Linked DNA regions of Homo sapiens: region 1 is linked to region 2. The links are contacts of gene promoters, found by promoter capture Hi-C in human tissues and cell types (Jung and others, 2019). All regions are on one chromosome and are shown on one strand. The core of a region is centred on a gene start or on the middle of the fragment in contact, and the rest is flanking DNA. Distances in the headings are between cores, read along the strand shown. Region 1 overlaps ZNF341 (zinc finger protein 341). Region 2 holds the start of SNTA1 (syntrophin alpha 1).

What was found. Contacts are between HindIII fragments. The study calls those that stand out against the background at their distance.
Region 1: a fragment that was not itself captured here is called in contact with the fragment with the promoter of SNTA1 in region 2 in 1 of the 25 tissues and cell types used here (H1 embryonic stem cells).

What each region holds. Positions count from the first base shown.
Region 1 is chr20:33,786,465-33,792,330 of GRCh38, forward strand. It overlaps ZNF341 (zinc finger protein 341), which reads left to right. Exons shown (of 15, transcript NM_001282933.2): 13 at 2,399-2,510; 14 at 3,054-3,124; 15 at 4,524-5,805. The coding sequence ends at 5,053. It overlaps ZNF341-AS1 (ZNF341 antisense RNA 1), which reads right to left. Exons shown (of 4, transcript NR_110623.1): 4 at 909-1,313. Among named protein-coding and RNA genes, the nearest start is that of ZNF341-AS1, 22 kb to the right of the region's middle. RefSeq lists an enhancer at 5,679-5,866. The HindIII fragment of the contact is 3,237 bases long and covers 1-3,236 here.
Region 2 is chr20:33,440,396-33,446,379 of GRCh38, forward strand. It overlaps SNTA1 (syntrophin alpha 1), which reads right to left and starts at 3,368. Exons shown (of 8, transcript NM_003098.3): 1 at 2,916-3,368. The coding sequence starts at 3,225. RefSeq lists silencers at 2,914-2,973, 3,084-3,563 and enhancers at 3,794-3,863, 3,842-4,342, 4,314-4,373. The HindIII fragment of the contact is 21,074 bases long and covers 1-5,984 here.

The DNA.
Region 1 (5,866 bases), core at 368-2,867, 340 kb after region 2:
ATGAAAAAATTCTAGAGACAGATGATGGTGATGGTTGCATGATGGTGCAAATGTACTTATGCCACTGAACTATACACTTAAAAGAAGCTTAAGATGGTCAATTTTCTGTTATGTATATTTCTCCACAATAAAGAAGGGAAAAGAAGTAATGCATTGTAAGTTTGATATTACCAAATTGCTCTTTATGGCTTTTAAAAATTATTATTCAAAAGTAATACATGCTGCCAGGCGCGGTGGCTCATGCCTGTAATCTCAGCACTTTGGAAGGTGAAGGTGGGTGGAGCACCTAGGTCAAGAGTTTGAGACCAGCCTGGCCAACGTGATGAAACCCCGTCTCTACTAAAAATACAAAAATTAGCCGGGTGTGGTGGTACGCACCTGTGATCCCAGCTACTCAGGAGGCTGAGGCAGGAGAATTGCCTGAACCCAGGAGATGGAGGTTGCAGTGAGCCAAGATCAAACCACTGCACTCCAGCCTGGGCAACAGAGCAAGACTCTGTTTCAAAAAAAAAAAAAAAAATACAAAAAACGAAACAAAACAAAACAAAAAAAACCACACAAATAATACATGGTTATTATAAAAATGGAAACAATATAGGAGTACATAAAGTAAAATGTTAAATTTCCCCTTCAAGTTGTAGTTGCCACTGACACTTTGGTCTGTCCTTTCCCTACACCTCCCCATCTTTCTTCCTGCATCTTCAGTTTATTTACAGAGACACATGGCCAGGGCTTTTTTGGGGTGTGCAGGTTGTATTTTTTCTTTCTTTTTTTTTTGTTGGAGCTTACATATCCAGTAGGGATTATATTTTTTTCTAAGAAAGACGAGATTGTGTTAAGCTGTTCTACTGCTTTCTTTCCCCACTAGCAGTATGTCCAGGAGATCTTTCCAGATCAGGAAACACAGATTGACCTTTTTAATCTTTTTAATGACCACAGAGCATTCTATTGTAGGGACCAGCATTTCCGTATCGACTGGGTTGATGGTTTTTCAGAAGTACTTTATTCATTCCAGAGGGAGAACAGAGAGGAAATAATGGCAGGAAGTCACAGCAGCCCAGAAACAGCCCCTTCCAAAGGGCAGGCTGTGACCCCACGGCAACTTTGCAGGCACCTCCCTTGATTTCCTGTGGGTTCCTCAGGTAGCCCATCAGGCAAGAGCTGCCCCAGGACGGGTTTAACAGCAGGAAGATCTGGGTAGCTCAGATGGGCTCTGGATCACGCTGCTGGGCTGGAATCTTAGCTCCCGCAACCATAGGGGTAGCCCCTGAGCCAGTCCCTTCACCTCTCTGAACTTCAGTCTTCTTTCTTATCTGTGAAACAGGGATGATGGGAGTCAGTGCCTCCTGGTTTTTTGGAAGGATTCAGTTAGATAAGGTGTGATTCCTCGTCCCCCAGGGTGGACCGCATTGCCAGAAATGACATGAGGCCACCTTGCTTCTCAGGCCGTGCCTCATCCTTGACTCCTCTCCTCCTCTCACAGTCACAGCCAGTCCAGTGGCAAGGGCTGCCGACTGTGCCTTCCCAACATGGCTGTCCTGGGCCACTTCCTGGTTATCCTCACCTCCACCCTCATTCGAGCTGGTTAAAAGCTTACATCAGAGTCCATCCCTCTGCTGTTCAGACCTTCTGGTGCTTCTCTTCTGGCTCAGAGTAAAAGCCAAAGTCCTGGCTGGGCGCGGTGGCTCATGCCTGTAATCCCAGCACTTTGGGAGGCCAAGGCAGGTGGATCACTTGAGGTCAGGAGTTCGAGACCAGCCTGGCCAACATGGTGAAACCCCCCATCTCTACTAAAAATACAAAAATTAGCTGGGCGTGGTGGCACACACCTGTAATCCCATCTACTCAGGAGGCTGAGGTAGGAGGATTGCTTGAACCCAGAAGGCAGAGGTTGCAGTGACTCACCTGAAATCTTGCCACTGCACTCCAGCCTGGGTGACAGAGCAAGGCTCTGTCTCAAAAAAAATAAATAAATAAAAGCCAAGTCCTTAGCTCTGCCTCCCAGGTCCTCCCATGCGGACCTGGCTGGCTCGCTGCCCTCACCTTCTGCCTTGTTCTCTGGCCACACCAGCCTCCCTGTTGTTCATCAGCACCGCCAAACGCACTCCTGCCTCAGGGCCTTTGTACCTGCTTTCCCTGCTGCCCAGACCATCTCCCTGATGACCTGAGGTCTCTCCTCATGCATGGCCTCATCAGAGAGGCCTCTCCTGACCATCCTGTCAAAATAGCCCTGTCTTGTCTCTGGCAAAACAAAGCCACTGAAGAATGAGAGAGGCTATTTTCTCCCCTGGCCACCTCCCTAGAGGAGCTGCTCCCCTGAGGGGCCCAGCGGGGACCCTTGTGCCCTGGATGCCGACTCCTGGTGAGTGCTGGCTCTCCCTGTCTGTGTCTGCTGCAGGTGAGAAGCCCTACAAATGCTCAGTGTGCGAGTCTGCGTTCAACCGCAAGGACAAACTGAAGAGACACATGTTGATCCACGAGCCCTTCAAGAAATACAAATGCCCTTTCTCGTGAGTAGAGACTGCCATGCAGGGGGGTGGGTAGCGGGACAGATTCTCCAGGGGTGCTGCTGGGGAGGGTGGGACAGATGTCAGGCCTGAGGGCAGGCCTCTCCTTTTTTTTTTTTTTGGAGACATAGTCTCACTCTGTCATCCAGGCTGGAGTGCAGTGGTAAGATCTTGTCTCACTGCAACCTCTGCCTTCTGGGTTCAAGCGATTCTCTTGCCTCGGCTTCCCAAGTAGCTGAGATTACAGATTTAGTAGAGATGGAGTTTCGCCATGTTGCCTAGGCTGGTCTCGAGCTCCTGACCGCAAGTGATCCATCCACCTCGGCCTCCCAAAGTGCTGAGATTACAGGCGTGAGCCACTGTGCCTGGCCAGGCCTCTCTCCTTTTATCCTGTCCTGGGCCCTGCCTGCCTCACTTCCCACCCTACCTCCTTGCCCAGCCCTTAGGGTGGACAAGGCTGTCCCTTGTGCCCAGGGCTAGTGGAGGGGCCAGCAAGAGGATCCTAAGCTTGGTGAGCTCCCCCTGACCAGTGGCTTTGGGTTTTAGGACGCACACAGGCTGCAGTAAGGAGTTCAACCGGCCGGACAAGCTGAAGGCCCACATCCTCTCCCACTCTGGTAAGTGGCTCTTGGGCCTGCTAAGAGGGTCTGGTTCAGCTCTAGTTCACTGGGATAGACCCGCCAGGAAGAGAAAGAGCAGACATATCCTGTGAGGCTTGTTTTCCCTGCCTGGCACATTCCAGCCAGCACTTTCACTTATGTGGGCTATGAGCCAGGCCTGTGTTAGGGACTTAAGGGTGAACAGAGATGAATCAGACACAGTCCCCCAGTCCAAGGAGGAAGCTGACCTGAGCAGAGATGACTCAGTTGGAGCAGTGCCCAGTGTAATAGAGGTGTGGACGAGGTGTGGAGGGAATCAGATTCCAGCCAGGTCCAAGACATGGCCAGGAAGCTTCTTTGATAGGGCAGGGCAGGGGTCTCCAAGCCACTCCTCAGTTTCTCAGCGCCTCCTCAGAGCAGCCTGGCTGGCTTTCCACATGCCAGCCGAGGTCTAAAACAAGGTTCTTCAACCCTGGCACCATTGACAATTTGGGCCAGATAATTTTTTTTTTTTTTTTTTGAGACGGAGCCTCCCTCTGTCACCCAGGTGGAGTGCAGTGGTGTGATCTTGGCTCATTGCAACCTCTGCCTCCCAGGTTCAAGCGATTCTCTTGCCTCAGCTTCCCAAGTAGTTGGGATTACAGGTGCCTGCCACCACACCCAGCTAATTTTTGTATTTTTAGTAGACATGGGGTTTTCACCATGTTGGCTAGGCTGGTGTCGAACTCCTGACCTCAAGTGATCTGCCCGCCTTGGCCTCCCAAGGTGCTGGGATTACAGGTGTGAGCCACCGGCGCCTGGCCTGTAATCCTGTAGATAATTTTGTCCTGGGGGCTGTCCTGTGCCCTGTAGGATTTTTAGCAGTATCCCTGGCTTCTATCTACTGGTGTCAGTGGCATCCCCCCACAGTTGTGACAACCAAAAATGTCTCTAGGCATTGCTGAGTCCTCTGGGGGGTAAAGTCTCCCTTGTTTGAGAAGGTTTACAGAAAGGAGTCAGTCACTAAAGAAAGTGTGAAAACTGGGAGAGTAGGTCAATGACTTGGACACACAGGGCTGGGTTGGAGTCTTAGTGCTGCCATGTTCCTGTGGGTGGCCTCAGGCGTCACGGCCCCTCCCTGAGCCTGAGATGACCTGGCAAAGCGAGCCAAGGTGCAGAGAGTGAGCAGCTGTTCCAGGCAGAGGAGAATGGCAAGTACAAAGGCGCAGAGGGAGGAGCCAGCGTGGCATCTCTGAGGAGAGCGAGTGTGGCTGGCGCAGAGAGTGGCTGGAAGAAGGCAGACGACGAGGGTGGAGAGAGCTGGGGCCAGATCACACAGGTGCTGGTGGGGAAAGAGCCTGGATTTTATTCCCAGCGCAGGGCACTGTTGCGGGGTGAAGGTCTGGATGCTTCTCACTGACTTTCCCTTGCCCTCCAGGCATGAAGCTCCACAAATGCGCCCTGTGCAGCAAGTCCTTCAGCCGCCGTGCCCACCTCGCCGAGCATCAGCGCGCCCACACGGGCAACTACAAGTTCCGCTGTGCTGGCTGCGCCAAGGGCTTTTCCCGCCACAAATACCTCAAAGATCACCGCTGTCGTCTCGGCCCCCAAAAGGACAAGGACCTGCAAACCCGGCGGCCCCCCCAGAGGAGGGCAGCCCCCCGCAGTTGCGGCAGTGGTGGGCGCAAGGTGCTGACCCCCTTGCCTGACCCGCTGGGGCTGGAGGAGCTGAAGGACACAGGGGCTGGGCTGGTGCCCGAGGCTGTCCCCGGCAAGCCGCCCTTCGCAGAGCCGGACGCGGTGCTGTCCATCGTTGTGGGTGGTGCGGTGGGCGCGGAAACTGAGCTGGTGGTACCTGGACACGCTGAGGGGCTGGGCTCCAACCTGGCTCTGGCGGAGCTGCAGGCTGGGGCCGAGGGCCCATGTGCCATGCTCGCTGTGCCCGTCTACATCCAGGCCTCCGAGTGACGGACCTGAGGTGTCTGTTTCCTGGGCAGGCCTGATGCTCCTGTTTGGGTCCAGGGCCCCTGGGGGCAGACCGGTGATCCTTACCAGTGGAAGCGAGCCATCGAGCCATTGGCAGAAATCCTGCTGAATGTCATTCAGAAACCTCAGCCCATGGTCGCCCTCCTGTGCCCCTCTCCTGCCGGAAAGCCCTGCAACATTCTAGGGTTGGGGGCAGGGCCATCCACGGTTTCTGGGCAGAGCCATGGTGGCAGGAGAGAGATGGCTGAAGCCTGAGCAGCCCAGAGTCCCGCTGGTCTAGGCTGGTGGTCGGGGCCCCTGGGAGAGGAGACAGGGCATTCCTCCCCACTCTGTCTCCAGGCTGCCTCTGGGTAGCCTCTAGTCTGCTGTTCTTCAGGAGGCCTGCCATAAACTCTTCGGAGTTTACGTGTTGCACCTTTTCACAGACGGTTCCCCACAGCATCCTCAGACAGCTCTGTGATGTAGCTTTTAGGAGGCACTCAGGTGTCACGGCTAGACTGCAGCTATGAGACAGATCTGGCTTCAAATCCAAGAGTTGCCATGCACTTGCTGTGTGACCTTGGGCAAGTCACTTCACTTCTCTGAGCCCCGTGTTCCTCATCTGTACAATGGGGCTTACGATACTACTACCTCATAGGGTTGTCCTGGGGATCCAGTATGATGAAGTGCGCCAGGGGCTTGGCATGGTGCCCGGCACGCAGAAAGTGCTCAATAAATGTTTTTGTCATAACGTGTCCGGGTGGCCTGGGCCAAGCTGTGGCAGTTTCCTTCTTTGCCCCTAGGTGGCAGCACTCC
Region 2 (5,984 bases), core at 2,118-4,617:
AATGAGCCAAGATTGCACCATTGCACTCCAGCCTGGGCAATAAGAGCGAAACTCCATCTCAAAAAATAAATAAATAAATAAATAAATACAAACACAAAAAATTAGCTGGGCCTGGTGGCACATGCCTGTAGTCCCAGCTACTCAGGAGGCTGAGGCAGCAGAATTGCTTGAACCCAGGAGGTGGAGGTTGCAGTGAGCCAAGATCACACCACTGCACTCCAGCATGGGCGACAGAACAAGACTCCATCTCAAAATAAAACAAAAATACAAAAATTAGCCAGGCATGGCGGTGTGTGCCTATAATTCCAGCTACTCAGGAGGCTGAGGCACGAGAACTGCTTGAACCCAGGAGGTGGAGATTGCAGTGAGCCGAGATCGCACCACTGCACTCCACCCTGGGCAACAGAGCAAGACTGTCTCACACACACACACAAAAAGGCAACAATGTGGGAACCCACTGATACCCCTCAAACCGGAATCAAGAGACAAGTCGGCTATTCCTATGGCCTCAAAAGACTGCTTTAGCAATCATAATGTTTTACAATCCAAAGTCCAGGCTGGAAACCAAAGCCTTAGAGTCTAGAGATTCTAAAAACCTGCCTGAATGGCATCTTGGATACAAAAGAAGCTAATACATTTTACTAAACATCTTTATTACCAAACTCTTAAATGCCCTTTTAAAATAAGAAATAGTAATAAGAGTTCACCTTAGTTGCACTTACCAAATGCCAAGCACTGTGCTAAATGCTTTCAATGTTGATTCATTGCGTCTTTACAATACCCCATCACATAGGTATGTTCAGTTTCCTATTAGGGAAACTGAAGTGTGGAGGGAAGCCCCTTGTCCAAGGTCACTCCACTAGTAAGTAGCGAAGCCAGTATTTGCACCTAGGCCTCCAGGCTCCAGAACCAACACTATTAGCCCTACCACAGACGACAAGTCAGGCCCTCAGATATCACACTCCTGGCTCATCCCCAGAATACTGAAGATGAAGAATTAGTGGCCCAGAGTGGGAGGTCATTGTTCCAAGGTCACACAAGTCTGGTGGCGGAGCTGGGACTGGAACACCTCTCTTGACGCCCACACAGGCCCGACCGTTTGCTTATCTGCACAGAGCTTGAAGTCTAGGAGAGGAAGGGGTTTCTATTTATATCTGCCCTCCCCCACCTGAAACTAGGGGCTTCAGTTCAGTTTGAAGCTATGATCACTCATGGCTGCCTCAGACTAAGCTAGACTTTATAGGAGGGGTTACCATGGCAACAGGAGCCCAGATTTGGATCCAATGGAAATACCTGAAGTCTCCTAAAAGTACCCTCCCCTCCACCTAGAATTATGGAGCTGGGGAGTAACTTTGTGTGACCTTGCAAAGTCCCTGCTCCTCTCTGAGTCTCAGTGTGTCCATCTGCAGAATGGAATTCTGTATGAATAAGTTCCTTCCTGCTTTGACACACTGAGTGTATAATTTTTGGATTCATCTGTTGCCCTATCCCATGCTGGAGATTGGGGGTAAGACTGGTGCCCATACCCTCATTTTCTCATTTCTCCTTTTTAGCCCCTCTTGGTTGGCTGCCTGGGGATCTGCCCTTCTACAGGAAAGAATCAACTTCCCTGAGCACTCTCTGAGGGACAGTAGCTGATAATTAAGGTTCAAATCCCAGCACTGACACTCACTATGTAATCGTGGGAAAATCATTTTAACTTTCTGAGTCTCAGTTTCTTCACCTGCAATATGGGAATTATACTCCCTACCTTTCACCACTTGTTGCCAGGATGAAGTGGATCATGAGACTAGTGTCCTGGGCACAGCACCTGGCACACAGTGGTGGCATTCACCACCATCCCCACCGCCTCAGCCAAGCCAAACGGTCTGGAGGCACTAGTCAACAGAACCAGTACCAGGGAGACCCCAGAGGGTACGGTATGTATTCAAGGTGGAGACAAAGGCTGATACCCTTTCCCAAAGCACCTGCTGGGGGCTGGGACCCTGAGAAACAGATGGGCAGGAATAGTGAACCCAGCAGCTGGGGGTGTGCAAGGATTTTAACAACTATGTTTAGTTGCTTTGGGAGTATCTGCTGGCCTCCATTTTTCCTCTCCGCTAACAGCAGTAATTAACTAGGCACCTACAGTGTGCTGGTGTGGTGAGCCCTGCTCTCAGAAACATCACAACTCTGTCATCCTCTTATACAGTTGAGGAAACAGATTCAGAGGCGGGACGGGACTTTTGCAACCTCACACAGCTGATCCTGGATTCAAACACAGTCTGGTTGCACCCTAACTGCACCCCACTAGCGGTCAGTCCTGGGGGCTGAAAGCTCTATCCTGTGCAAGGTGGAGATAGTCAGATCAGGAGACCCAAATCCAGCTGTCAGGGCTCCCTGCAGCCTTCCTGGGTCCTTAGATTCCTAGGTCCTTGCTGGCCTTCTGCCTGTGACCCCAGCCTGTGCCTGCACCCAGGCCTCCTATCCACCCCTGTGCTTCCCAGACTCCAGGCTTCCCCTCTGCACCCACCTTGGTTGCTTCTCAGGGACTCCCTCCTCCCTGTCCCACTGGTGTCCCGGCCTCAACCCCCTTTCTCCACACTCTGCTTTCCGGGGGACCCCTCTTGTCCTTGATGTTCATGCTGGTTACCCCTCAGACCCCCCCGCCTCCACACAGAACTCCCACCCACGTGTCCTTGGTGCTCCCACAATCTTATCCACACCTGTGTCTTCCGTGCCCCCTAAGGCCACCAACTACTGAAACCCCCTCCAACCTTGGTGTGCCCAGTGCCCTCCGTTACCTGTTTCCTCAGACCCCCCTTACCCCCAGACAGGAAGCCTCCAGCTCCATGTCCTGGGCGCGCTGCCAGCCCCCTGCGCCCTCGGCTGCCCCCAGACACCACGACCCCGCGCCCTCGGTGTCCCGCGCCCACCTTTGATGCTGATGCCCAGCCCACCGGCGTCGGCCTTGCGCACCGTCACGCGGCGCCGCTGGAGCAGTAGCGCCTCTGGCAGCTGCGGGGGCCCGGCGCCCGGCTCCGCGGCGCCGTTGAGCTGCGCGGGCTCCTGCTCCCGCGGAGCGCCGGGCTCGGGACCAGGGTCGCCGTCGGCGGGGCTCACGGTCAGCACGTCCTCCGCCAGACTCAGCAGCACCCGCTGCCATCGCTCGCCGCCGGCCCCCGAGCCCGCCCCGGCGCGCAGCTCCAGCAGCCCGGTGCGCGGGGCGCGCCTGCCGGACGCCATCTTCGCCTCCGAGCCCCCGGGCCGCCGCGCTCGCCCTGTCCCGCTTTGCCCAGCCCGCTCCGACCAAGCGCCCAGGGCAGAGGGCAGCGGGGGCCCGGCTGGGCCAGCCGCCACCCTACCCCGGCCGCTGGGGGAGGAGCTCTGGGGGCGGGGCTACCCTGGGGTGTGGCCAGTGCTGGGGAGGGGGCCTCGGGCAAATGCAGGAGGCCGGGGCGGGGCCCGGGAGCCGAGGGCCGCCGTGTGGGACTACCTAGCGGGGTGGGTCAGAAGGGCGGCGGGGCGGGCCACTAAGTAAGGCGAAAGCCCGGGAGGCGTGGTGCTGGGCGGGGCGTCAGGGGGCGGGGCTTCGCGTCGGGGGCGGAACCCAGTGAGCCCGCGCAGGGGGCTCGGCGCTCGGAATGCCCATCGAGGGCCGGGACTGTAACTCCCGGACGTGGGAGCGCATGAAAAAGAGACAGAACCACGTATCCTGGTGCGAAGCACTGGGCATCGGGCTGGGCTGCATATGGCGGAGGGCTGGGCTGCGTATGGTAGAGCGTTGGACTCCAAGGCTTGAGTTTAAGAGGTAGACACCGTCTGGGCGTGGAGGCTCACGCCTGTAATCCCAACACTTTGGGAGGCCTAGATGACAGCCCAGAAGCTCGAGGCTGCAGTAAGCCGCGATCGCGCCACTGCACTCCAGCCTGGGTGACAGAGCGAAACCCTGTGTCAAAAAAAAAAAAAAAAAAAAAAGGTAGATGCTGAGCCGCGAGAGACCTTGCGGGCACAGTTGCTAGTTGGGGAGCTGAGGAAGAAGTTGGTTTCCTATCGGGGAGGGCGGGGGATGGGGGGTGGGGGTCGAGGCTTTGGTCTGTGGGCGTGGCTTATCGCTGGCGTGGCTTCTAAAGATGACAGGCCCCGCCCCCTGGAGGAGACCGCTACCGACACCGCTTAGGGCTTGGGGGAGGTGTGGGCAGGATCCCCACTTCAAAACTGGAGGGAAGTTTAAGAGATTAACCCCTGGCTGTGTTCACAGTCGAGTATAGAAAAGCCTGAAGTCCCACACTTTGAGGCCTGGCAGAAAAAAAACAGAACTGGTGTGTGGGAAGAGGGTTGCAAGGTGGGGCTCTGGGTCTGGGCGACTGGAGACATGGTTTCTAATCTTTGCTGCCTCTGTTAGCTCCAAGTCGACTTTGGTCCCCTCACGTCACTGCTCTAGGCCTCAATTTCCTCATCTGTAAAATGTGGATCATAATAATACCTACTTCACTGGGCTGGTGTGAGGATTAAATCAATGTGAAAACACGTGGTAAACTGTGACTCCCTATTCTATAGAAATAATCACTTTCATTTAGTGAATGCTTACTCTTACCTAGGGCTGGCAGAATATTTTCCAAGTGTTATCTTTACATTAGCCTCCTGGAGTAGCTAAGAGCACCCCCAGCTGGGCACAGTGGCTCACACCTGTAATCACAGCTGAGGTGGCAGGATCGCTTGAGCCTTGGAGGTCCAGGCTGCAGTGAGCTGTGATTGCACCATCACACTCCAGCCTTGGTGACAGAGCAAGAAAAAAGAGCACCCCTATTATACAGAAGGGAAAACTTGGATTTAGTCTAATTGGCCTAGGTCACACATTTATGAGTGAGGAAGAGCTGCGATTCAAACCCAGGCCTGTTTGACACCAGTGCCTGGGCACTGAACCACTCTGCTAGACAGCTGACAAATACAGAGGTAAAGCATGATTGTAATCTGAAAAATCCACCACATCACACAGCTCAACTGGCCTTCATACCTGCTCCTTGTCTCTATCCTCCATTCCTAGCTGGGATATGTTGAGCAATAAATAAGTAGGACTACACCAGTGTTTAGCCTCCCTGAACTTTTGGGTAAAATCCTCCACATAAGATACCATCAAGAAAAAAAAGAGGGGGCCAGGTATGGTGGCTCATGCCTGTAATCCCAGCACTTTAGGAGGCCGAGGCAGGTAGATCACGAGGTCAGGAGTTTGAGACTCAGCCTGGCCAACATGGTGAAACCCCATCTCTACTAAAAATATAAAAAAATTAGCCGGGCGTGGTGGCAGACACCTATAATCCCAGCTACTCAGGAGGCTGAGGCAGGAGAATCACTTGAACCCGGGAGGCGGAGATTGCAGCAAGCAGAGATTGCACCACTGCACTCCAGCCTGGGTGATAGGGTGAGACTCCGTCTCAAAAAAAAAAAAAAAAAAAACCAACAACAAAAAAAAGGAATTGTTTTAAGTTAGAGTGGTAGGTGTCAAAACAGGAGAGACACAGGTTTTAAAAAAAGAACCCAGGGTCTTTTATACATATATATATGGGATGCCGAGGAGGAATGATCACTTGAGGCTAGGAGTTTGAGACCACTTGGGCAACTTCACGAGACTCCATCTCTACAAAATAAAGAAATTAGCCAAGCGTGGTAATGTGCACCTGTACTCCCAGCTACTTAGGAAGCTGCAGCAGGAGGCCTGTTTGAGGCTGCTGCTGTGAGCCACAATCATGCCACTGCACTCCAGCCTGGGTGACAGAGCAAGACCCTGTCTCAAAAATAAATAAAAGAAAGTGAGAGGAAGGAAGGAGAGAAGGGAGGCAGGGAAGGAATATAGCATTGTATATAAGCATTGATATCTTAAAAGTATGACTGTGCTTAAAGATTGTAGGACAGCCTGAGGAATTTGGGGTAAGCACTTGTGATAAATAACTACAGCCTACTTGGCTTGTGGAAGCTTCACTCCAATGGTAGAGAAGGGAGGGGAG